Linked DNA regions of Homo sapiens: all the other regions are linked to region 1. The links are contacts of gene promoters, found by promoter capture Hi-C in blood cells and fetal thymus (Javierre and others, 2016). All regions are on one chromosome and are shown on one strand. Each heading gives the region's core, a stretch centred on a gene start or on the middle of the fragment in contact. The rest is flanking DNA. Distances are from core to core; before and after follow the strand shown.

Region 1 (4,171 bases), core at 891-3,390:
TTTCGAATTTATTTTTCTAAGTACATCATCCTTTACACTCTCCATGATTCCTAATATTAGGTCCTTCTTATGGAACAACTACAAAAGTTATCCTCATCTAATTATTATACTCGTACACTGGAAAATGACTATAACATTATTCATTATAGGAAACAAATCATCAAGGTCAGCCATCCTTGTAAGTTTATTACTGAAAGTACTAGAAAGGCGGAATAATAATTCTGTTCTCCCACAACACTGTATAGACCTGCAAACCACTATGATCAGTAGTACAGGGAAAGTCTTGTAAATTAACATGTAACTATTGAGAAAATCCACAAAACTGGTGAAAGGCCTACCCCAAAACAGCCATCTCCAATACAATCTCATCATTCTCACCATCCTACTTTTATCAAAGTGCTGATAAAAGTGCGTAGCACATGGTAAGAGAGAATTAGCTATTGAATCAATGAAGGAACCCATTATCAATAAACAATCACTTCCTGTTTTCCATAAATTATGTGGTCACCTATCACTTGAGCACAAACAAATAGGCACGTTCAGGACACAGGCAGCCAGTATCAGAATAGGCAGCCTATCACAGAGGGCAATTCTACTTTTCCTGTGTAAGAATCCAAGAATGCAGTTTTACTACATTCCTGCTTGTAGCTAATCTGAATTTCAACTAATTTAAAACGGTTATTTATATGTGACATATAGGATGCATAATGAGCTCCCAACCTTGTGAGAGGAGCTGTGTTTCATTTCACCATACAGGGGAGAGGGAAGCAGTGTATTAAAGAAGTGATAGAAAAGTCCCACAGAAGAACCAATGAAATAGACCACACTGAAAATCACAGTAAGCCTCAGAGAACTTCAGTGTCCTTTTTGGCAACTTTTCAAAAGTGAATGGAATGCTTGCCAGGAGGTACCAAGAGTGAAAGCCCAGAGAAAAAGGCCCAGCCTGGTCATCTCTCTCCCCTCAAAACATCTTCTTCTGTAAGCTTGAGAGATCCCAAAGAACTTCAACACTTGTAATCTTGTTACTAACTTTATGCTTTGGGGTCCTAAAGGATTTTTTCAGGAGTACCCTTTTAAAATGTAAACATCCCTAGGGGGGTTACTGTTCATTATCAAACAGGACCTGGATTCTTTAGTGCTATGGTCTCAGGGATTAGTCAAAGCTGGCTAATAAGATAGGGGCCGGAGACAGACAACTAGAGAGGACCAATGTTCCAAGGTAAAAACAGGTAAAGGGGAAGTGCAGTTTTCTGTCGGGTCAAGGGGCTAAAAGGGATCCACATGCCCAAGCTGTTAAACTCTATAGACTGTGTGAGGCTGAAAACAGTCCGGGGCCTGGAGCCTGTGACTTTGAAGGTGGGTCCTCCAGTTCCCGATGAAAAGGTAGAATCTGGGCCCAAGTTCCCCACGAGCAGTTCTGGACATCTAGCCCTTCTCTCTCTCGCTCGCTCTCAGGATAAAGTCCTAGGTCCTTCCACCCCTGACCATTCCTTACTTACCCTTTCTCCCGCTCTTCCTCGGTGAGAAGGGGTAAGTGGTTATTTTGTGCCCTCGCCCAATTTGGCCAAAACCCTAAAAGTAAAAAACGACAGACAGACACGTGCTTTAAAATCATGTTGTTCAAGCCTGACGCTCTCCCACCACCTGCCCAACACTTCCAGGCAGAAGGCAGCGCGCCCCCACAGCGCTCCCTCACGGCCAGAGCCGGGGGCCGGACTAGGCCCCTTTGTGAGGACTGGGAGAGGGCGCGTTGTTGGGGCGCCGGCTCGGCGGGGAGGAGCGGGCCAGCTCCGGGCCAGGTGTGCCGCCTGTGGCGCCGGTTTCTCAACCTAGTTAGCCAGTGGCACCAAGAAGAGGACTAGGCTGGGGTGGCCGCCGCACGCGCCTCAGATAAACACGCGCACGCACACATGCTCGCGATCACGCAGGACTCGCGGCCGCGCACCCCTCCGCCTCCCGGCAACGCCCGCCCCGCCGGGGCCGGGGCCGACTCCCAGGGAAGGGTCCCCAGCCCAAGAGACCACCAAGGGTCGGCGGCTACGCGCCCGCCGACCCCTGCCAGCCTCACAGCCCCCCACCCGCCGCCGGACGCCGGGCGCCCGCCCTCCGCACCCGCTGCGCAGCTCAGCCCGGGGGAAGTCCCCGCGCAGACCCCGCCCTCCGCCGGCGGCAAGCTCCGCCCCGCTGCCCCGTCGCGCGCTGGCCGCCCGAAGCTCCGCCCCCGGCGGAAAACTGGTCTCTGGACCGCCCGCCCAGGTCGGGCTCAAAATGCGGCGTGGATCTGAAAGGATCAAACACAACACTAATTCAGCAAGCTATTATTGAGCACTTGCCCTAAGCTCAGCAACGTACTAATGGGGGAGACTACAATAAAGAGCCGAAAAGTCTATGAAACTGTGTCTTCAGCTCTTCCTCTTGTTTTAGAAGCCAGGAAACAGAGAACCCTCACAGTTACTTAAGTACAGGGCAGTAGTGGCAAAGCACCTCACTAGCGATCTCTGGGCAACTCTTCATTTCATTTTTTCCTACTCATGAGCACTCAGGAAAACTATTCAGTTTTGCTGCCTCCAGGTAAAACAAAGTGAGTAACACAGGACAGGCGGTTTACTTGAGAGAAACGGGAATTTCATACTGAAGCTTTTGCCCTCAAATGGTACAAACTCTTTTTTTTTTTTTCCTGAGACGGAGTCTCGCTCTGTCGCCAGAGCGACACTGCAATCTCCGCCTCCCGGGTTCACGCCATTCTCCTGCCTCAGCCTCCCTAGTAGCCGGGACTACAGGCCCCCGCCACCATGCCCGGCTAATCTTCTTGTATTTTTAGTAGAGATGGGATTTCACCGTGTTAGCAAAGATGGTCTCCATCTCCTGACCTCGTGATCCGCTCACCTAGGCCTCCCAAAGTGCTAGGATTACAGGCGTGAGCCACTGCGCCCGGCCGAATGGTACAAACTCTTAACTGGGTTATTACAACCTACAAAGAAACCTTCTTATCCATGTTATTAATTATCCTAATTCAATGTGGTTTAAAATGTTGATGAAAGTACCCAAATCATGGTGCTCCAACAAGCTGGATGCCAACCAGGTACTCGTAAGTACTTGCAATTACAGGTGCGATATTTTCATTCCATATCATCCCAAGATGCCCTTCCTTCACGTGAAGCAGCCAGAAAGATCAACTACCAGATTCCGCATGATTGAGGAATTGATAAATAGAAAGGGAAGACCGAAACCGGCCAAATTTTCCCTTCGAAGTGAAACTTGAGAAACTTGCGTGCATTTTACCTGAGTTCCTTTCTCAGCAGATAAACTGTCAGACCTCCCAGATAGTGTCAAGGAAATGCAACTTTCCAGAACACTACATCTGGACAATGAGGTGCATCTGCTGCCTGTTCACAAACTCCTCTTCCTTACCCCTCCATAATTCCCTGCTATAGAAAGCCCTAACTTTAGTCTCCCTAAGACATGTTTGAGACTGGTCTCCCTGCCAGCATCACCTGCATTAAAGCCTGTCTTCCCTGGCAATACTCGTTGTCTCAGGGACTGGTTTTCTTTGCTAGGAGCAACCCAACCTAGGCTGAAGCCCAGGCATTTAGCAGCAGTGGCACCTAGAAATACTGAACAGACATAAAATACTTTTTTTCTCCTTTTCTTACTCCTCCAGTTGTATCTTCATTATTTCTGTCTCTATTCTCCCTCTAGATACTGCCAAACTACTCTGTGCACTTTCAGATCACTTAATACTAATGTAAATAACAGACATTCTGGCACTCTTGGTTCAAAATTTATTCTAAAGGTTTAAGAATCTACTCAGGGTCTTAAATAGCCTGATAACTAAAATTCCAAGAGTTTCCTAAAGAGAGCAAAATTGCTCTCCTGTGAAGGGGATATGTCCCAGTTTTTCTTACTTGTCACTGAAATAATTACTGCAAAGTAAGCTCTTTTCGGCCAGTGCTTAAGGACTTAATTTCAAGAGCACTTAGGTGACAGGACCACCCTCATCAAATAGCAGTCAAGAACTATTTGGTACCATGACCCCAAATTGAATGGAGCTCCTGGTCACTAGGAACTGACAGTCTGGGATGGAATGTAGGTGAATAAACAACAAAGACAGGTGTTTATGGCCTTTATTGTATTGGGAAGTCAATAAACATACAAAAAGAGTTGCTAGGTC
Region 2 (4,171 bases), core at 682-3,181, 3.8 Mb before region 1:
CATCTGTAGTCCCAACTACTCCGGAGGCTGAGGCATAAGGACCCCTTGAGCCCGGGAGTCCAAGGATGCAGTGAGCTATGATTCTGCCATTGTGTTCCAGTTTGGGCTGCCCCATCTCTAAAAAAAATTTTTTTAATATGAAAAAGAAGTACTTTCTAAGTGAAAACTTAAAAAAAAAAAAAAAACCCAAATTGGTGAAAAATGCCTGACTATATCAACACTGTATTTAGAAAAATAGGGAGGTATGGGAAAAAGGTTAGGCAAGCCCCAATGCCCAAAACAATAATCCCAGAAACTGAAAGCATCTTGAAAACCACCTAGCAATACAGAACTTTACATTTAAAAAAAGCAGGGGTAATTTTGATTCACAAATGTCCTTAGTTGTGAATGTACCTAAAAACTTGTTTATAAAGCTGCATATATAGAGCAGAAAAATCTTTTACAAGATCTCAGGAAAATAATCACCAAATAACATGGTGCACTTAAATCGCACTGATCATCACAGCATGATTCACAAATAATACCGTACAACTACAAAGATATAACACATCGCTACACATACTTTATTTGCAATTCAGTACCATGAAAACATTTCTCTAAGAGGTCAATGTAATAATCTTTTATTGATATAGGAACTCTGGCACTGAAAGCTTGAATAACCCAAGGTAATGATGTCGTCACCAAGGGAGGACAAGAATAGAACCCAAATCCCTTGACTCCCAAGCTTGTGTTTTCCATTAATTGTGCTCCTTTCTATTCATCCAAGAGCATCAAGTGTAAAAGGCTGGAGAAAGGAGTGGACACAAATGAGCCAAGTCCGCAAGGTGGAGACTGCACTGAAGGTCCTAGGAATCGCCCCTTGGCACTTTCCTTTTGTGTTGGCTGAGGAAGATGAAAGCAGCAACAACCACAAACTCCTGGGACCAAGAACTGGAACTAGGTACTGCTTGTTGTGGTAACTCTCTTCCTCATTTTAGGCCTTTCCTTTTTAACCTCTCCTTCCGGCCAAGCCTTCGCGCTCTCTTCCCCTCCCTCGGTTTCTATCCGCTCCCGTTAGCTCCACTCCGCACATTCCTGCAAGGTGTCCCCGTTAAGAGGAGGCAGCTGCGCCGCACTGGCTCTCCACCCTCCATCCGGCCCTGGCGCCCAGTCGTCAGGTGTTCGAGAGGTTCGTAGCGTCACAAGCGCTCTCCCTAGAAAGTGAGTGGCAGTCAAGCATTATAAACGTGTTTCAACTGTAAAGAGACTTAAGAGATGGGAACCGGGGCATATACCAAGTTAGCTCTGCGTGGGTCTAGGTAGCTCGTCACGACAAAGCAAAATTTAGACAAGCGTTGAGACTTTCCTTCTAGCTCCGAGTTTCACAGCTCCGCCATCCCCTGAGCAACCTCCCACTGGAGGGCGCCTTCCGGAGCGCGCGTGTTTACACTTTTGCTACACCAGGCGGAGGAAACAAGCGCTCGCTGACCCCGGGGGATTCCAAACCGTTACTCCGCCCGCCGGGGTGGGGCCAGCGCAACGGCCGAGCCTGCGCAGCCAGCCGGCTCCGGGGGCCCCGCGCACTACAAGTCCCAGAAGGCAGCTCTCCGCGGGGCGGGCAGTCGCCTTATCTGCTTCTGGCTCATTTTTACCACTGCTCTCCCCTTCCCCGGTCCCCCTGGTGTCCTTTCCACAGTTAAAGGCTACTTTCTCTTGAAGCACATGAGGAGAAGCCTTAGCAACCTCAATACCGAAGTTCTTCGCGCGCTCGCTCTTTCTGCCTCCGCCCGAACTATGCCTGAGTCCCTCACAGGAGTTGGATAGTAGAGGCGAGAGAAGGAAGTCTTTGCAGGCCAAAATTGGGACAACCTGCTTGGACTTCCGCCTCCCGGCCTCCGGAAGGCAGTGCGCACGCGCTCGCTGCGACTCCGGCGCGGTTGACTTCCGCTCCCACTGTGCTCTGCGAGCCGAATCATGGATCACACTGGTAAGGAGGCGGAGGCAGTGGGGGTCCCGGTTCCAAGCCCCCTTGGCCGGCCTGGGGCTGGTCGCACAGCAGGCAAAAGGGATTATGCTCGCCCCACAACACTAGGGTGTGGCAGTGAGAAGAAATCTCACAGATGCCTTCCTGTGCCCGGCAGGGGCCTGCGGTTTCCTGGCCTACCGTCTGGTGTGGTACCTACCTCCTCCGTGCCGGCAACAACCGCTCCTACTCTGGTTCTGCTGAGCTCCGAGCCCGGACCAGTGGGCGATGTAGGCCTTCGGGAAGGGAGAGCCCCGGCTCTGTTTTATTTAGCCCAGCTGCTCTGGCCTACGTTATGGAGACTGGCGGGTAGATTGCGGTCTCCGAGTCGCGGAATCCTCTTTACGCTGGGAGTGGACGGGCGAGAATGGGTTGGAGACTTCCTGCTGTCTCAGTCAGCTTTGGGCGGGTGCTGCAGTGGTCACCCCCTGTCGTCTCTCCGATCCTTTATGGACTAGAGGGGTGAAAGAAGGGAGTCTGATAGAGTTTTTGGAATCAAACTCGGAGCAGTTTTTCTACCTAAACCAAAAGCATGCCCCGCGCTTCGGCTGAGGTCCTTACTCATCATTTGAGGGTATTTACAAAGAGGAGTTTAAAATCAAGGCATTCTCATACTTTTCTCCAAGTAAGAGTGGCTCCACCCTTTGTTATGTATTTTCTGGCTTTTGCTTCTTTGTGGTTCTTGGATATTGAATGAGTGCTCTTGGAGTTATGTGCCCCATACATTTATAGCGACCGTATCACAAATAGAGAAAAAAAGGCTTTTTCTTGAGTATTGAGTTGTCCTCACTCATCAGATATCTACTTGGTTATATAATTAGGTGTGTATGTTTATTTATGTAGGTGTGTATGTTTATTTATGCAAGATACATGCAGATATCTATAGGTCGGGAGATGGAAGATGGAATGGTAAACGAGACGGACCAGGTCCGTGATAGAACTTCTGTTTTATGGAGGAACACAGACAATACGTTCTTTTTTTTTAAATTTATTATTTTTTTAATGTTTGCGGATTATTTTGAAGAAAATAAACGAGTGCTGTGGAGAGATTCATAGGACGAAATTTCAGAGAGGGTTGTTAGGAATGGTCTTTGTGGAAGCTAAGATCTGATGGATGAGAAGAACCCAGCCCTGGGAAAAAAGCAAGAGGAAGAGCATTTCCAGCAAGTGCGAAGGCACTGAGGTAGGAAGATACAGTGAAGTCAGCTGCAGCCTCCTAATAGCCAGAGGGTAGGAGTCCTGAAGTGAGATTGGAAAGGAGGGCAGCAGGCACATCATTCAGGTCATTGAAAGCCGTGGTAAACGTTTGAATTTTAATTTAAGTGAATATGAAGCCATTGAACAGAAGTGGAGGAGGAACACAGTCTCTTAAAAAATACAATAGGCTGTTCTATGAAGAATGGTGTAAGAGAGGGAGGTAAGAATGATGGAAAATAGCTGATTGCAGTAGACGGGAAGGGAAGGTTGGTTTGGTGAAAATGAAGGAGAATGGGCAGCTTCAGTAAATACTCTGGTGGTGTTTGAAGGAATGTGAGAGAAAGGAGAAATGCCTAGGCTTTTGGTTTGAGCAACTAGGTAGGGTCCATTATTGAGCTGAGGAAAACTTGGGGCAGAAAACAATCTTTTTTTGTAGAGGTGAGACGGGAATTTGGGAACAAGTGTTTGGTCTTGGACTGCTAGTGTGAGATAACTACTGAGACACAGGAGAGATGCCAAGTGGAGATGAGAGGAAAGATCTGCACTGAAAATACGTATTTGGAAGTTAGTACCTTTATTTATAGCTGGTATTTTAAAGCATGAGGACAGATGAGACCACTTAAGAAGGGTGTGTTCAGAGGAGAAGCCGGCCTAGAACGAGGCTGTAAAGAATTCCAGTGTTTGGGAATTTATAGAGTTGAAACTGGGATTTTGATGTTAGAATAGCAAACATTCAACTTTAGGAAAGTAATTCTTATTTGAGCCCACTACTGGAATTATGAGTCAAGTTCCTGCCATAGTTTAGAGGCTATTATGTTAGGAAATCATAATAGGGGTGAGTGTAAAGAGTGTTTATTATCTTAATTCTTGAAGTTTAGAGATTGCCTAAGGAAGTAAAACTCATCTTAACATGAAAATACTCACGAATGAGCTGACCACTTAAAAAATTAGTTCCCTCTCAGATGTCCCTTC
Region 3 (4,171 bases), core at 1,221-3,720, 3.7 Mb before region 1:
TGACTATTGATAATAAAAAGATGGGTGTGGCAAGCTGAGGCTGAAAAATTTAAATGATTAGTTATTGTCAAAGAGGGGATATTGATCTGTAGCTTCTGTGTGGCAATGGAAGAAGATACACTAATAATCCTCGCTTGATACGTTTGCCCAAAATTGTTCTGTTATCATCAACCTTCAGTAGTTCTATGTTTTGAATTCATATCTTACATAATAGGGACATTTTCTTTTTCTAGAGAGGCCATTTCAATCGAATATCTCATGGCCTACAGGGACTTTCTGCAGTGCCTCTGAGAACTTACGCAGATCAGCCGAGTAAGTACTTAAGTAAAACATTTTTTTCATCACATTAGCTGACAGTTCCTTTCTATTTCAATGTAAAAGCAAGTGAATATTGGAATAACTTATGTTAAGTGTCTTATAGTTCATTTGTTCATGTATTTATTCGTTTGAATGTATATTGAGCTAGTGTGTTCCAGGCGGTGAACAAGGTAAAAAAACCCTGCTCTTATGAAACTTGTAATTTGGTGATAAAAGACAAACAATATATAAGTAATGGATAAATATTTTGGGAAGTAACTGAAAATTAAAGCAGGTAATAGGGAGGAAGAGAGATAATTTTAGATACAGTGTCAGGAAAGGCCTTTCTGAGGAGATGATGTCTGGGCAGGGTCCTGAGTGAAGTGGGGGAGTGAGGTTACTTCAGGCAGAGGGAAACAACACTGAGAAAGGCCTGAGGTGGGACTTAGCTTGTGAAGTTTAAGGAGTAATAAGAAGGCTGGTATGACTGGAGCAGAAACCCATGCAATGTAAAGTCGGAGAGGTAGGCAGGAGACAGATCATGGAGTGCCTTGTAAGGCAGGTCTAGTAGTTTGGATTATACTCCAAGTATGATGGGAAACAAAGGTTTTGAGCAGGGCAGCAATTTCATATGTTTACATTTAAAAAGTTAATTTTGTCCGTTGAGTAAGGTTGTATTGGTTATTTTAACACTGTTTAGAATGATGAGATGACTTTCTTGACATCCTGAATGAAAGTCTTCATGGGTTTATCAAAAGCATGTTTTAAAGATTAGCAGGATCTAAAAGGAAGCTATGGGTCATGGAATTTTCTCCTGTGTACTTTTTTTATATTTTTGAAGTTCCCATAAAGGATATGCATTTTATTTTTTTAAGTATTTAAAACAGAAAGTTAATAGGATTATATTGAAGTATTTTGACCTGTCAGTACCAAGGATATTGATTATTTGCAATGTACTGTTTTGACATTTACTGAATTCACCCATATGGATTATAAGTAACATTGGATGTCTTAAAGCTTCAGTTATAGAAATCATTATCTGGGCAAACTGTGACTATCAGTCTCCCTGCATTCTGTGAAGTAATTTAATCCTGTATCCTCAACTGTTATCCAACCATTATCATTTTGGATATTTTATTTCTAGAGGAAGGGTAGGGGGAGGATTCTAGTAACCCATGACTAACAGTGAGTGAGTGATTTATTCTAGCTTTGAACAGGTCAAGAAATCCTTTTAAAAAAATGCTAATATGATGATGAAGGGAAAAGTTGGACCTCTTATACACTTTGTCTCTTGTTAAATAGGAATCTCATTCTTCTCAACTCATATAACAGGAGAAATGTTAGATTTTCATTTCTAAAGGATATTTTTCATGGCTAACTCTATACCTTTGGCATCACTCAGCAGAGATTATTCAGTGCCTTCTATTTGCCAGGCAGACCCTGAGCCAGAACTTAGATTTTAGTGGAATGAGGCTGAGTGTTCCATAATCAGTTTGGTGATCCCTTGACATTGAGTAAATCATAAATCACTTAGTACCCATGTGTGTAAAGTGTGTAAAAGCTTTGAGTGGATGCAGTAACAAGCATTTTACACACATACTTGTATTTTATCTGAGGTACATGCTTACTGTCTTTTCCTCAGGAATGCAAACTTCATCAGGACAGGGACTGTGTGTGACTGTTTTGTTTAGTATCTAAAGTGATACAGTAGGTAATCAGTACATATTTATTGAATGAATGAACACTGGGGCCTGGTCTGTTTTAATTACTGCTCTGTGGCAAAGCATCCAGTATGGTGTCTTGTACAAAGTAAGTAACCAGCTACAACAGCAATAATATTAACTGATGCATTGAGGGCTTCACTCTGTCTCAGGCACAGATTTAATCCTCATGGCCTTTCTACTACCTGTGTGCTGCTGTTCTCCCCATTTTATAGATGGAAGAGTTAGGTTTTTTAACTAGGAAATGACAGAGCTGGGAGAATCCTTTTGACTTCAGAGCCTACACTGTTAATGTTTTATTGAGTTTTCTTCCTTACATGAGTATTGATTGACTCTCCTGAGGAGTTCAAATCTTATTATGATATAGTCTTGGTTACAACATCTGAGAGATGTCTGAATAGCCTTATGAACCAGGTTCATCAGAATTTGCAAAGTTGTGTGTGTTACTGTTGATGTGACGTTTTATTTCATGACAGCACTTAATCAAACTTGTAACACTTAAACTTACAGCACTTATATCACTCACATTCACTACATTCATTCATTCTTTTATTATTTCGACAAATACTAATATCTACTATGTGTTAGTCATTGGGCTAACTACTGGAGTACCGCAGTGAGCAAGACGGACAAGACCCAGCTTTTATAGAGCTTACAATTCAGTTGAGGGAGACAAACATCCAACATATAATTGTGACAGGGGTCCATAGACTTAAGCATAGGGAGTAATGACATCTATATATGGATTGGGAATGGTCACATAATTCTTTCCTAAGGAATTATGTTGATAGCTAAAAAGGTTGAGAGTAACTCTCGTTACAGGTTGGACCTTTTACTGTAATTCTTTTTTTTATTTAGACTGTAAGAAATAGGGCTATGTCATTTATATATACACACACACAGACACAGCATGTGCAGACACACCCCTCCAAGAGCCTAAAGTAGTGTTTGTAATGTGAAATGCCTGCTGTTAGTGTTTATTTCTAGGTAGATGGAACAGATCGTACATAGGTAGACCAGCATAATTCTATGCATGTAGGCTAAGAGTAGTAATTCACCGTTACTGAAGCTTAAACTGCATGGTATTGGTGAGTAAACAGAACGTGGTAGGAGATGAGGCTGGAGAAATAGTTACTGAAGGAATTTGGATGCTGTACTTAGGAACATGGGCTTTATCTAACAAGACACTGGAGAACCAACAGAGCGTAACAACAGAGAGAATAACATCTGAGTTGGGTTTTAGCTTTGCGGTAGCACTGGGTAGGCTAAAATGGAGGATGTGAATGAGGCTAGAGGCTGCTGGACTGAAGTTTGGAGGTGGATCTGAGAAGGGGAGTGACACTGAGTTGCTAGTATGCACCTAGCACCTCCTTAGGATCTTAACATGCGTACTCTCTGATCCTCACAACCCTAGGCTGCAGGTGTCATCCTTACTATTACCCCCATGTTGTATCAAAGCCCAGAGAGATTGAGTAATTTGCCCAAGAACTTAACGGGGTTAGAGTTTGGAACCCAGGTCTGTTTTACTTCAGATCATTTCTTATTTTACTATATTTCTTCTTTAGGGACCAGGAGGTTATGACTAGAAAGTAGAGTATTGATTTCAGAGGCTGAACAGTTTTGGGTGATAACAAGTATAGAGTGTTAACTATGGGAGGAGGTTACTGAAAAAGACTGGATATTAAGGCCATTGACAATGTAAAAACAACTTCCCTTACCCCTCAACAAAATGTCAACAAATAAACCTTATCAAGTAGTTCTTACATTCAGTAAATTTGGTAATTAATGATTATTGCCTTATGACATCTCTTTTCCTGTTCGTTTTTTCTTTTTAAAAATCTGGTTTTGTTTTTGTTTGTTTTTTTTTTTGAGACAAAGTCTCGCTCTTGTCCCCTAGGCTGGAGTGCAGTGGCGTGATCTTGGCTCACTGCAACTCCACCTCCCGGGTTCAAGTGATTCTCCTGCCTCAGCCTCCCGAGTAGCTGGGATTACAGGTGCCTGCCACCAGCCCGGCTAATTTTTGTATTTTTAGTAGAGATGGGGTTTCACCATGTTGGCCATGCTGGTCTCGAACTCCTGACCTCAGGGGATCCACCCACCTCGGCCTCCCAAAGTGTTGGAATTACAGGCATGAGCCACCGCGCCTGGCCAAA
Region 4 (4,171 bases), core at 1,064-3,563, 3.1 Mb before region 1:
GGATCCCTTCCTTACACCTTATACAAAAATCAATTCAAGATGGATTAAAGATTTAAACGTTAGACCTAAAACCATAAAAACCCTAGAAGAAAACCTAGGCATTACAATTCAGGACATAGGCATGGTCAAGGACTTCATGTCCAAAACACCAAAAGCAATGGCAACAAAAAACAAAATTGACAAATGGGATCTAATTAAACTAAAGAGCTTCTGCACAGCAAAAGAAACTACCATCAGAGTGAACAGGCAACCTACAAAATGGGAGAAAATTTTCGCAACCTACTCATCTGACAAAGGGCTAATATCCAGAATCTACAATGAACTCAAACAAATTTACAAGAAAAAAACAAACAACCCCATCAAAAAGTGGGCAAAGGACATGAACAGACACTTCTCAAAAGAAGACATTTATGCAGCCAAAAAATACATGAAAAAATGCTCATCATCACTGGCCATCAGAGAAATGCAAATCAAAACCACAATGAGATACCATCTCACACCAGTTAGAATGGCGATCATTAAAAAGTCAGGAAACAACAGGTGCTGGAGAGGATGTGGAGAAATAGGAACACTTTTACACTGTTGGTGGGACTGTAAACTAGTTCAACCATTGTGGAAGTCAGTGTGGCGATTCCTCAGGGATCTAGAACTAGAAATACCATTTGACCCAGCCATTCCATTACTGGGTATATACCCATATGACTATAAATCATGCTGCTATAAAGACACATGCACACGTATGTTTATTGCGGCATTATTCACAATAGCAAAGACTTGGAACCAACCCAAATGTCCAACAATGATAGACTGGATTAAGAAAATGTGGCACATATCCACCATGGAATACTATGCAGCCATAAAAAATGATGAGTTCATGTCCTTTGTAGGGACATGGATGAAATTGGAAATCATCATTCTCAGTAAACTATCGCAAGAACAAAAAACCAAACACCGCATATTCTCACTCATAGATGGGAATTGAACAATGAGAACACACGGACACAGGAAGGGGAATATCACACTCTGGGGACTGTGGTGGGGTGGGGGGAGGGGGGAGGGATAGCATTGGGAGATATACCTAATGCTAGATGATGAGTTAGTGGGTGCAGCGCACCAGCATGGCACATGTATACATATGTAACTAACCTGCACAATGTGCACATGTACCCTAAAACTTAAAGTATAATAAAAAAAAAAAAAAAGAAAGAAAACCGGTAACTAGCTCTTTTTCCGGCTGGAACCATGGTGGGTGTAGAAGAGAAGAAGAAGGTTCCTGCTGTGCCAGAAACCCTTAAGAAAAAGCGAAGGAATTTCTCAGAGCTGAAGATGAAGCGCCTGAGAAAGAAGTTTGCCCAAAAGATGCTTCGAAAGGCAAGGAGGAAGCTTATCTATGAAAAAGCAAAGCACTATCACAGGGAATATAGGCAGATGTACAGAACTGAAATTCGAATGGCGAGGATGGCAAGAAAAGCTGGCAACTACTTTGTACCTGCAGAACCCAAACTGGCATTTGTCATCAGAATCAGAGGTATCAGTGGCGTGAGCCCAAAGGTCCGAAAGGTGTTGCAGCTTCTTCGCCTTCGTCAAATCTACAATGGAACCTTTGTGAAGCTCAACAAGGCTTCGACTAACATGCTGAGGATTGTAGAGCCATATATTGCATGGGGGTACCCCAATCTGAAGTCAGTAAATGAACTAATCTACAAGAGTGGTTATGGCAAAATCAATAAGAAGCGAATTGCTTTGACAGATAACGCTTTGATTGCTCGATCTCTTGGTAAATATGGCATCATCTGCATGGAGGATCTGATTCATGAGATCTATACTGTTGGAAAACGCTTCAAAGAGGCAAATAACTTCCTGTGGCCCTTCAAATTGTCTTCTCCACGAGGTGGAATGAAGAAAAAGACCACCCATTTTGTAGAAGGTGGAGATGCTGGCAACAGGGAGGACCAGATCAACAGGCTTATTAGAAGAATGAACTAAGGTGTCTACCATGACTATTTCTCTAAGCTGGTTGGTTAATAAACAGTACCTGCTCTCAAATTGGAAAAAAAAAAAAAAAAAAAGAAAACTGGTAACTAAATACAAATAAATTAAGCATTTCTCTTTCCTTTCCTGTAAAATTTGTAAAATTTGCCTTTGAGAATACCCAAATAGCTTCAGTTGATGAAGGAAGGCTCTTCTTTACAGAAGAATGTCAATTATAATGTAGGAGTAACAGAATTAGACATTGGTCATTCTGCAACTCTAATGAAATTATTAGTTCTGGAAATGATTAGGTTAATGGTTGATGAGATAATGCTTCTAGCACAATTGTCCAATGAGAAGCAGATTGTCATCACTTTAACACGGTGGTCATCCTTAGCATTACTAATGGTTGTTCAACTAATTGTCATGTGTGTCTTGATATGATGCATTATGAGGCACATGACATTACCTACAATGTGCTCTAACAACAAAATGTTTAACTCAATCAAGCCATTATATTTAAATTCCAGTGTTCAGGAAATGAAAAGGAAAGAGGAACACTTCAAATAACACTGAGAAGGAAGAAGGCAGGTACATCCAGAAAGCGAGTCTTTCTGCCTGTTAACCAGCCTAATGTCTTCAATTAAATCAGTTTTAAAGGTGCAGGTGAAGAAGGTGTGGCTGAAGGACTGCGTTATATTTTAAGTGACTTGGAGAAATAGTCAGATGCAATGTGTGATCTAGACTGAACCCTCATTTGGATCTAATCAGTTACATAAATAACATTTTCAAACTGGGTACAGGATAAAGGGACATTTACTGATATAGAAAGGTATACATTATATGCTAAAAAACCAGATTATAAAACAACATATACAGAATGAGTTTATTTTGGTATATATGTGCATAGAATGATTTCTGAAGGAATACTGTGCAGACATTACTAATGTTCACCAATACACTGTTTGCTTCCCCTTCCAAGCATACAGAAGGTTGTACTTTTCAGGCCCATGCAATCGGACAGGATAAACAGATTGTGAGTAGAAGAAACCCGTGGCAACTTCTGCTGAAATATTATTTCCTTGCCACAGAAATCAGAGAGGAAGACTCAATTAAAATACAGACAACAGGACAGGATCTAAGTAACCACCACACGGAGGTTCACTGTGCCAAAGAGTCACCCAAACCCACAGTTAACTTTGCATGAGCCAGAAATAAAACTGTTTTGTTAAGTCACTGAGATTTCGGTGTTGTTTGCTATTAGAGCTTAAGGAAGCTTAATCCAATGAACACAAATAAACTCTAATACATTACAGTGGTAATCTGAGGGTAAAATATATTATTTTTATTTTCTTATCTTTTCTTTCTTCTAATTCCCTACAATGCTTTGTGCTGCCTTCTTTCTAAACAGTCAAAGTTCTTCTTTTTAATTAAAAAACATAATGAAAGGAGACCACCTTCATCACAGTGAAAAAATTATCACAGACAATTCCCTAAATGTGGCTGCCATAAATGTAGCATACAAAATAAGTAACTCATTTTTTTTTAGGGCATTACGTATCAGACATAATTCCCTGTATTTAGCTACCTTAAATATGGTAGACACATAAAAAAGTAAAATTGATACAGATGTTTTATAAAAATTCTATCATTTTTAAAAAGCTCAACTCTTGATAATAACAAAAAGTTTAGCTGGAAAAGTTCACACTAGAGTGTACATGCTGACACGTTATATGCAATTTGTCCAGTTCACTGTTTTTCAGATGATTATTTAAGGGAAGGGTGACAACTTTTTTCAGACTACCTAGATTTTTATTCATAATTGATCTGAATATATATTCCTATATTACATTTTTTCATAGTATTGAAAGGTCCTTAGATTTGGGATTAGTTATGCAAGATAAAAGAGTCCTCAGAGTTTCAATTAGCAAGACTATTTAAACTGCAACTGAAAACTACTCAGAAATCCATCAGTAGTACAACTGGCCTTGTAAAAGAGGTTGAAGTGAGCCACCTTGCCCCTTCTGCCATCTAAGTAGGTCATGAGAAGCTGCTGTCTAGGAGGAACGGGACTCTCACCAGACATCAAATTGTTGGTGCCTTGATTTTGGACTGCCCAGCCTCCAGAACTATGAGAAATAAATTTCTGTTGTTTATAAATTACCCAAGCTAAGGTATTTTATTATGACAGCCCAAATGG
Region 5 (4,171 bases), core at 514-3,013, 3.0 Mb before region 1:
GCCTGCCAGTTTCCTGCAGTCAAGGAGCGTAAGGTAAACTGTATTGTCTGGATCTAGCGTAACATCCAACAAATAGTAGACTCTCTAAAATTCTGTATTATTGAATTGATTTTTAGTTTCATTTAGATTACTAGTTTGATAAGTTAAAAATGGAAAATAAAACCCATTTATGATTCTTTTGATGTTGGGCAGTTTTGAGACAAAAGAGAATTATATTTAATTTCAAACAAATTCAGTAGTATGCAAAATTGGAGATTATCTTGTGTATAATAGCAGACTAATGCCTTCAGGAAATCATCTATACTTGAAATAATGCTAAATACAGTAATTGTTCAACGCTATATTCTTTGGAAGCTGGGTAAAAGAGACATCACATTGCCCTGTATCAGTTACTTGCTATGCTCATTCTATTTATAAGGTTTATTATTGATTTATCTATTTTAGCTCTTCTACATCCATAGTCACTCCTTTCTGGTCTGGTTCATAGCTTTTTAAAAGAGCTGCTAATATCTTTATTGTTCAAATAAAACTTAACATTATAACCAAAATAAATTAAGCCATATTGGTGCAAGATATCTCTCCAGATCACCTAAGGGAGGGATATGCCAGAAAATAATTCTAGAAGAATAATCACCATGGTAGGCTGAAGAATGGCCTTCTAAAAAATGCCCATGCCCAAATCCTTAGAACCTGTGAATATGCTACTTTACATGGCAAAGGGGACTTTTTGCAGATGTAATTAAGGGTACAGATTTTAAGAAAGGAAAATAATCCTGGATTATCTCTGTGGGCCCAATCTAATCACATAAATCCTTAAAATCAGTACAGATGTGGCAAAGCGAAAGTCAGAGAGATCAAGATAATGAGAGGAACAATTTGACAAGGAATGCAGGTTGCCATAGGGAACCAAGAGCGGCTCCTGACTGACAGCCAGCAAGGAAATGGAGACCTCAGCCACACAGCCGCAAGGAGTTGAATTCTGTCAACAACCTAAATAAAACTGAAAGCACACTCTTCCCCAGAGGTACCAGACAAAAGCTCAGGTAAGCTGACACCTTGATTTCACCCTTATGAGACCTGGAACAGAGGAACCAGTCAACTCTTGCTGGACTTCTGACCTACAGAACTGTGACATAATAAACTTGAGTTGTTTTAAGCCACTAAATTTGAAGTGTTTTGTTTCAGCAGCAATAGGAAATTAATATAATTATCTTTATATAGTTTGAAAACATGAAAGCAAGGATTTTCTGTTTTGATCCTTAGCACCAAGGCACAGCAATTATTAATAAAGTGTGGCCCGGAGCGTTGGCTCATGCCTGTAATCCCAGCACTGTGGGAGGCAGAGGCGGGTGGATCACCTGAGGTCAGGCGTTGGAGACCAGTCTGGCCAACATGGTGAAACCCCATCTCTGCTAAAAATACAAAAATTAGCTGGGCGTGGTGGCGGGCACCTATAATCCCAGCTACTCAGGAGGCTGAGGCAGGAGAATGGTTTGAACCCGGGAGGAGGAGGTTGCAGTGAGCCGAGATCGCGCCAATGCACTCCAGCCTGGGTAACAGGGTGAGGCTCCGTTTGAAAAAGAAAAAAAAAAAAGTTAATTGTTCAGTAACTATTTGGTGAGTGCATATTGAAAGAATTGAATTTATTCATTCAGCCATTATCTACTGAGTGCTTACTATGTGCCTGGCACCAAGCTATTTGCTGGAGGTAAAAAATTGAAGCACTGTCACGGAACTCAAAATATAACCTTAGGTAATAATACTATTAATGTAGAAAGAGCACTAATGGAGACATGAACTGGATATTATGAGTCTAGAGCAGGAATACCTACCCCAGCCTGTGGTGTTGGGAAGGAACTTCTGAACCAAGTCTTAAAAGATGTTGCTAGCAAGACAGATGGCAGTAGTGGAGTGGTAAAAGTGGGAAGAGAAAGGAGAGAGCTTTACAGAGAGAAGTGATGTTTGTAATAAAAGGCAATAAGGCAGGAAAAAACATAGTGCATGAAGGGAACTATGTGTTCCATGTTTGTACTGGAAATGTAATATAAGGATTGGGTGAGAGCTGAAGAACTTGGACCTGATCTTCTGGGTGATCAGAACCACTGTCAGATTCTAAGACAAAAGAATAACATGGTGGAATTTAAGTTTTAAGTACATTTTTTTGGTACCATGAGAGGGCAAGATTTGAAGAAGATGAGGAGTCCTGTTGTTGTCATATTTACTGTTTTCCTATTTAACCTTTTAATAAAAAAATCATTCTTTCTCCACCTTAAAAACTGCCTTAAAGAATTTGCCTATTTATACCTGCAGTTCAGGCCTCTCTATCAGGCTTGAGACCAGTTTATCCAGCTTCCTGCTGGGACATCTTAGAGGAACTAAACCAGTGGGAAATAAACCAGTTATATATAAGGTGATTTTCTGGGTGAAGAAAGAATAGTTTTATTAATAGACAGGTTATAGCTAAGGTTTTGGCACAAGAGTAGCAACATAAAATTAAGATATTAAGGACACATAATTGTATTTTCTCCAACTTACTTTTGAATCTGAGTTAGATTTTACCTTTTACCTAATACTTTTGTAGGTTATTCCATGCCTTGCTTATTTCTATGACAACTCATCCAGTTGAAAAGTTGGAATAAGTCTAAAAATGCCCCCATATTCAATTGCATGTTAATTTCTTTTCTTTCTTTCTTTTACTTTTTTTTTTTTTTTGAGTCAGAGTCTCACTCTGCCGCCCAGGCTGGAGTGCAGTGGCGCGATCTCGGCTCACTGCAACCTCCACCTCCCAGGTTCAAGCAATTCTCCTGCCTCAGCCTCCCAAGTAGCTGGGATTACAGGTGCTTGCCACCACGCCCAGCTAATTTTTGTATTTTTAGTAGAGACGGGGTTTCACCATGTTGGCCAGGCTGGTCTTGAACTCCTGACCTCAGGTGATCTGCCCGCCTCTGCCTCCCAAAGTGCTAGGATTACAGGTGTGGGCTACCACACCCGGCCTCTTTTACTTTTTTATTTGAGATGGAGTTTCGCTCTGTTGCCCAGGCTGAAGTGCTGTGGTGTGATCTTGGCTCACTGCAACCTCTGCCTCCCAGGTTCAAGTGATTCTCCTGCCTCAGCCTCCCAAGTAGCTGGGGTTACAGGCATGTGCCACCACTCCCGACTAATTTTTATATTTTTAGTAGAGACAGGGTTTCACCACGTTGGCCAGGGTGGTCTTGACCTCCTGACCTTGTGATCCGCCTGCCTCAGCCTCCCAAAGTGCTGGGATTACAGGCATGAGCCACTGTGCCCTGGCGCATGTTAGTTTCTTATAGGCAAGTATCAATGTTTGCATTGCTTAACTTCAGACTTAAGGCAAGGTTGGAGTCCTGTCCTCCCTCACCATTTACTGGTTGTGATACTGTGGGCAAATAATTCCCACAAGCCTCCCTTTTTTCATTAGTAAAATTTTCAGTATCCCAATTCAGTAATGTAAGTGCATTATGATCTATGGTCAGAGAATGAGGTACTGTGATCAAACAGCATGGTCAGACTACTCCAAACCCCTCAACAGGGTCCTAGTGTGAAAACAGCATCTCTCATAGAACCACAGAATTTGTTTTGGGGAAAAGTTGTTCACGGAAGGAGAGAAATACAGGGCAGAAAAACAAAAAGGCCAGGCAACACAGCAAGCAGATAAACACTGGTTGGAATGTATGAATGAACCAGTGCCTAAATGCGATGGAGCAAGTAGCACTTTTCCTTTAATGCCAATCTATAGTTTCAAAGAACTTAGAGGTTTGTTGGGGACCAACAATGTTTGGAAAGGACAGTGCCAGGGATGAACATGTGCTTTACTGTAGGCAATACTTAGATTCCAGTTCTAAGCTTTGCCACTTATTTGAACAAATTACCCAACTTTTAAGTCTCAGTTCCAAAAGCTGAAAAAGATATCATTTATGAGGACCTTTTCAAGGACATTTGGACTCAGTTTGAGACAGAATGTCTATTTTTTAAAAGGCAGCAATACTTGCTTATATTGTATCATAAAATCATTCAAGTATAGACGTTACAGCCTATGAATCAGAGTTATTATTTTATCACTCCCAAAACAATAGTGAGCAAGATTCATAACCTCTCTGACTCTTACTTTTCTCATCCAATAAATGGGCACACTAATACTCATAAGGTTTGT
Region 6 (4,171 bases), core at 1,085-3,584, 3.0 Mb before region 1:
TAATATTACTATGTAGTGTTAAGAATGTCTATACTGTTTTTAAAGTGTAGTGAAAGTGACTTTTCATGTCTAATAGATTAGTATAGTTCCCAGAACAATTGTAAACCGCAAATTTTTGTTATTTTGAGGGAGTTGGCAGCAAAACATTCCACAGCATTAAGATAGAATGGCAGCTTCTAAGTCTCAAGTGACAATTTGCTGTCAGTTCCATTGTGAAAAGCGTGACTAGTTCAAATATTTACAGACAATTTTAGGAATAATATATCTGTGAAGATAGAGAATAAATTTAGGTAGAGCTTAAGCTTCATAGAATAAAATCCTAATCAAGAGATAAGTCATTCAAGATGAAGATAATTGTCTAGAAAAATATCTATTTAGAAAAATATCAAAGTCTTGACTTAAAAATTCAATTTAGAATTTAGATAATTCCAACATAAGGAAGATTTAGGAGTGGCTGATAGATCACCTTTTGTACTGTTGGGTTATTACATTTTTGAGTTTCATTGATTTATTTGTTAATCATTCTATATATTGCAATTAAAAATAGGAGTCTTAGAGTCAATATTTTGTGACTTTCTGAGTGGGACCTCAAATAGAAAATAGTGATATGTGTATTTTTAACCATCTTAAATTTCTTTTCTCTCATTTAAGTCTTATATTTTCTAAATTTCCCATCTCCTTTGACATTCTAATTTCTATGGTTTTTCCTCTATTTGCTCTTAAAATGGATAGAGTTGAGATACACAGTAGGGCAAAAGAGCCAGCACAGAGTTAGCAACAGGTTTTGAGATTGAGTAATGTAAAGTTCCCATTAGGTTAACGATCTACAATATTTATTAAATAGTAAATAGATCTAAGCATTTACTAAATAGTACTTATTAAATAGCATTTATTAAATAGTAAATAGATCTAAGCATGATGCAGTTCACTTTATCAACCATCTGTCAATCAGATAAGGCCACAAGAGATAGCATATTATTATCATCCTGTTTTTCTGTAAAAATTTGAGGGCTTGCTAGGTGCCAAAAACAAGTTTTGGCCTCCACCTCTTAGGAACTTGCAGAGCAGTCACAGAGACTGATACATAAAGAGGCAATTACACAGCAAAGTGTGATTTAGTTATAATAATGAATAGAATGTGTTCAGACAGGCATAAACAACCAGTTGGTGTGTACACCTGGAACAGGTGATATTTGAACTGGTTCTTCAGTGATACATAGGACCCTTACCCACACCGCTGCCCCTGAAAAGTTCTGGTTTCAGTTTTGCTCCAGATTAACAACAACAACAAAAATAGGAAGAGGAATCGTAAGGGGACGAGGAGGAAGAAGAGAAGGAGAAGGAGGAATTTGTGGGATCATTTTATCTAAGTTTGGAAGCAAGTTTTCCCATATCAAGAATTATTGTTTAAAACCAGGGTGCTCCATTCTCTATTCTTAATAGTGCTGTCGCCTCACTTAGTATTTTGCTATTGCTAAGGAATGAGCAGTTTACCTTTGCATGACTTGAGCTGATGTTGTTGTCTATTTTTTATTAAAAAGCTTTGTTTACAGTACTCTTCAGAAATACATTACTGTGATGATACCTAGTAATGTGCTTCTACCTCCTCACTAAATTATATTACCAATGCAAACCAGATGTTTCAGTCTCGCTTGCATTGGTAATAAAATAAATCGGAGCTGGATCCCAGCTCTATGCCCCTCCTATATTAAGGAACATTGTTTTCCCTTTGTGTTTTATCATTTCCCAAATTAAGGAAACTATCCAGGTGGACTGGAAGTTGATATGCTGAAGGGTGTTTCAAAGCACCAAGTTTTAACAAGGCAAAACAAATGCTTCTTGAGCATATTATTTAATGTTCCAAAAAAGGAATAGACATTTCTTATTTAATGACATTCTGGGAATTGTTTGAACAATTTGTATAGTGTCCGTCATCTGTCACTCTCTACTCCCTCAAAAATTCTTTCTCATCTTTTAATACCACACTGATGAACGGATTAACTTATTTTTCATCCGTGGTTCAGGTACATTCTAGTCTCATGCCAGTGAATTCATTTTCATTTAGACTAACCAAGGTAGCAAGCTCAATGAAATTAACCTCATTTCACATTTATAATATTCTAGTTCATTGTGCATATTTAAACACCACACATCTTTATTAATGGAAAACATGAACCATGCACTGAATAAAACTAAAGATTAGGTTCTCTCTGAAATTAGCTCCTACTCCATTGCTTCTCATTTTGAATTATATTTCTGTAACCAAAAGCAAGACTTGAACTTACATATTATTTTCCAGCGATCCAAAAGAATACTTACTTAATCCCTAAATTTATTTTCTGATATTCTATATAGTAATTTGAACATTAAAAGTTATTTTCCCTAAAATTATGAGGCAGTATTCGTCTAAGATTTGTAAGAATTCTGTGTACAGTTTATCAAGCCTGCTTTTAGATATGGGACACTTTTTCTTTTAGTCCTAGTTCTATTCCTGATTAATTAAAATCACATAGTTGAGCTGTTGTTTGTGTATTAACCTGTCTAGAATAATCGATTTTCCATTTCTATGTTTCAGGGTTTTTAGATGATAAAATACGTAAAGAGCTTTTGTTTCTCTAAAGAATGGCACAAGGTAAGATGTAAGCTATTATTGCCCTGAGCAGTGGTGTTTAAATTTTGAGGGGTAATTTATCCCTTTCTTAATCTTAATAGAAATTGTGAAAAATGCCTATGCACATGAAATTTTGCATTAAATTTTAGAGGATCCAATGAGCCTCCTAAAAGCCTCCCATGGTCCAGTCCCCAACCCTGGAGGGAATGCTACTGCACCTTTTCTAGGTACTGGTTATAACATGCCAGGAGAGATTTAAAGTAGCATTATTTACACTACAATTCAAGTTAATAATTTAACAGGACCTGCCTGAATAATGGGACAATAATATACTCATGGAGCTGCAAATTGGTTAATTTATATGCTGACTGTCTCAATGTGGAGCCAGAATTAGACCCAGCAAAACAGCTCTTGAAATATGGCTTAGTAGGTGCTATTGTTCACCTGAAAAATATTTATGGAGCTCTGACTTTGTACTAGGAATTGTGCTAGACAATGAAGCTAAAAAGCTCATAAAAAGCTTATACTTTGGGGATAAAAAAACAAGTAAAGAAGCAATAATGACACTGGATGATAGAAATGATAATAGGATTAAGTAAAAGGAGCTAACAGACTAAATATGAAGGTTATCTGGAAGGGCAAATGAAGGCTTTCTAGATAAAATAACGAATAGGTCAGCCCTTGTATTAGTCTGTTCTCATGCTGCTAGTACAGACATAATCCAAGACTGGCTAATTTATAAAGGAAAGAGGTTTAATTGACTCACAGTTCCACATGGCTGGGGAGGCCTCACAATCATGACTGAAGGCAAATGAGGAGCAAAGTCATGTCTTACAAGGCAGCAGGCAAGAGAGCTTGTGTAGGGGAACTCCCCTTTATAAAGCCATCAGATCTCATGAGACTTATTCACTATCATGAGAACAGCGCAGAAAAGACCTCCCCCATGATTCAATTACCTCCCACTGGTCCCACCCAGGACACATGGGAATTATGGGAGCTACAATTTAAGATGAGATTTGGGTGGGGACACAGCCAAACCATATCAGTCCTGAAGGATGAATAGGAGTGAGCCCATAGCTCTTACACATATTCTTAAAAACCCAGTGTTCTACAAGCCTTATTGCAAACAAAACAAAACAAAAGCCTGCAGTCCTAGTTCATTTTCTGCTCTCCAGAGTCAACCGCTTCTAATCATATTGCAGATTCTTTGTGTATTTACCTATATTTCTCAAAATAACATGCTTAATACACACACACACACACACACACACACACACACACACACAAGTACTTTTTTTTTTTTTGAGTCTCGCTTTGTCACCAGGCTGGAGTGCCGTGACAGGATCTCAGCTCACTACAACTTCCACCTCCCGGGTTCAAGTGATTTTCCTGCCTCAGCCTCCTGAGTAGCTGGGACTACAGGTGCACACCACCACGCCCAGCTAATTTTTGTATTTTTAGTAGAGACGGGGTTTCACCGTATTGGCCAGTATGGTCTCGATCTCTTGACCTCATGATCCGCCCGCCTCGGCCTCCCAAAGTGCTGGGATTACAGGCGTG

What was found. The method cuts DNA at HindIII sites, captures the fragments that hold promoters and counts their contacts. A CHiCAGO score of 5 or more calls a contact.
Region 2: the fragment with the promoter of CBLL1 here is called in contact with the fragment with the promoter of IMMP2L in region 1 in 2 of 17 cell types (fetal thymus and total B cells); the score reaches 6.9 in fetal thymus.
Region 3: a contact is called between a fragment that was not itself captured here and the fragment with the promoter of IMMP2L in region 1, in 2 of 17 cell types (total B cells and naive B cells). The highest score is 12.9, in total B cells.
Region 4: a fragment that was not itself captured here is called in contact with the fragment with the promoter of IMMP2L in region 1 in 6 of 17 cell types (total CD4 T cells, total B cells, naive B cells and 3 more); the score reaches 9.2 in total CD4 T cells.
Region 5: a fragment that was not itself captured here is called in contact with the fragment with the promoter of IMMP2L in region 1 in 12 of 17 cell types (naive CD8 T cells, non-activated CD4 T cells, total B cells and 9 more); the score reaches 20.6 in naive CD8 T cells.
Region 6: a contact is called between a fragment that was not itself captured here and the fragment with the promoter of IMMP2L in region 1, in 11 of 17 cell types (total B cells, naive CD8 T cells, naive B cells and 8 more). The highest score is 15.1, in total B cells.

What each region holds. Positions count from the first base shown.
Region 1 is chr7:111,560,352-111,564,522 of GRCh38, forward strand. IMMP2L (inner mitochondrial membrane peptidase subunit 2) reads right to left here and starts at 2,141. Exons shown (of 6, transcript NM_032549.4): 1 at 1,500-2,141. RefSeq lists a silencer at 1,673-2,302. The HindIII fragment of the contact is 1,654 bases long and covers 982-2,635 here.
Region 2 is chr7:107,742,211-107,746,381 of GRCh38, forward strand. It overlaps CBLL1 (Cbl proto-oncogene like 1), which reads left to right and starts at 1,932. Exons shown (of 6, transcript NM_024814.4): 1 at 1,932-1,966. The coding sequence starts at 1,954. It overlaps CBLL1-AS1 (CBLL1 antisense RNA 1), which reads right to left and starts at 2,371. Exons shown (of 2, transcript NR_144537.1): 1 at 2,163-2,371; 2 at 543-1,193. RefSeq lists enhancers at 521-1,040, 1,041-1,559, 1,657-1,876, 2,227-2,406 and a silencer at 1,417-1,616. The HindIII fragment of the contact is 5,122 bases long and covers 723-4,171 here.
Region 3 is chr7:107,892,967-107,897,137 of GRCh38, forward strand. It overlaps DLD (dihydrolipoamide dehydrogenase), which reads left to right. Exons shown (of 14, transcript NM_000108.5): 2 at 234-312. Among named protein-coding and RNA genes, the nearest start is that of DLD, 3.9 kb to the left of the region's middle. The HindIII fragment of the contact is 1,229 bases long and covers 1,857-3,085 here.
Region 4 is chr7:108,508,991-108,513,161 of GRCh38, forward strand. The region is part of intron 4 of PNPLA8 (patatin like domain 8, phospholipase A2); the gene reads right to left. It also overlaps the pseudogene RPL7P32. Among named protein-coding and RNA genes, the nearest start is that of PNPLA8, 15 kb to the right of the region's middle. The HindIII fragment of the contact is 1,864 bases long and covers 1,382-3,245 here.
Region 5 is chr7:108,528,623-108,532,793 of GRCh38, forward strand. LOC124901722 (a long non-coding RNA gene) reads left to right here. Exons shown (of 2, transcript XR_007060473.1): 2 at 829-1,160. Among named protein-coding and RNA genes, the nearest start is that of PNPLA8, 4.6 kb to the left of the region's middle. The HindIII fragment of the contact is 4,198 bases long and covers 1-3,862 here.
Region 6 is chr7:108,545,232-108,549,402 of GRCh38, forward strand. It overlaps a transcript of THAP5 not described here. Among named protein-coding and RNA genes, the nearest start is that of PNPLA8, 21 kb to the left of the region's middle. The HindIII fragment of the contact is 1,590 bases long and covers 1,540-3,129 here.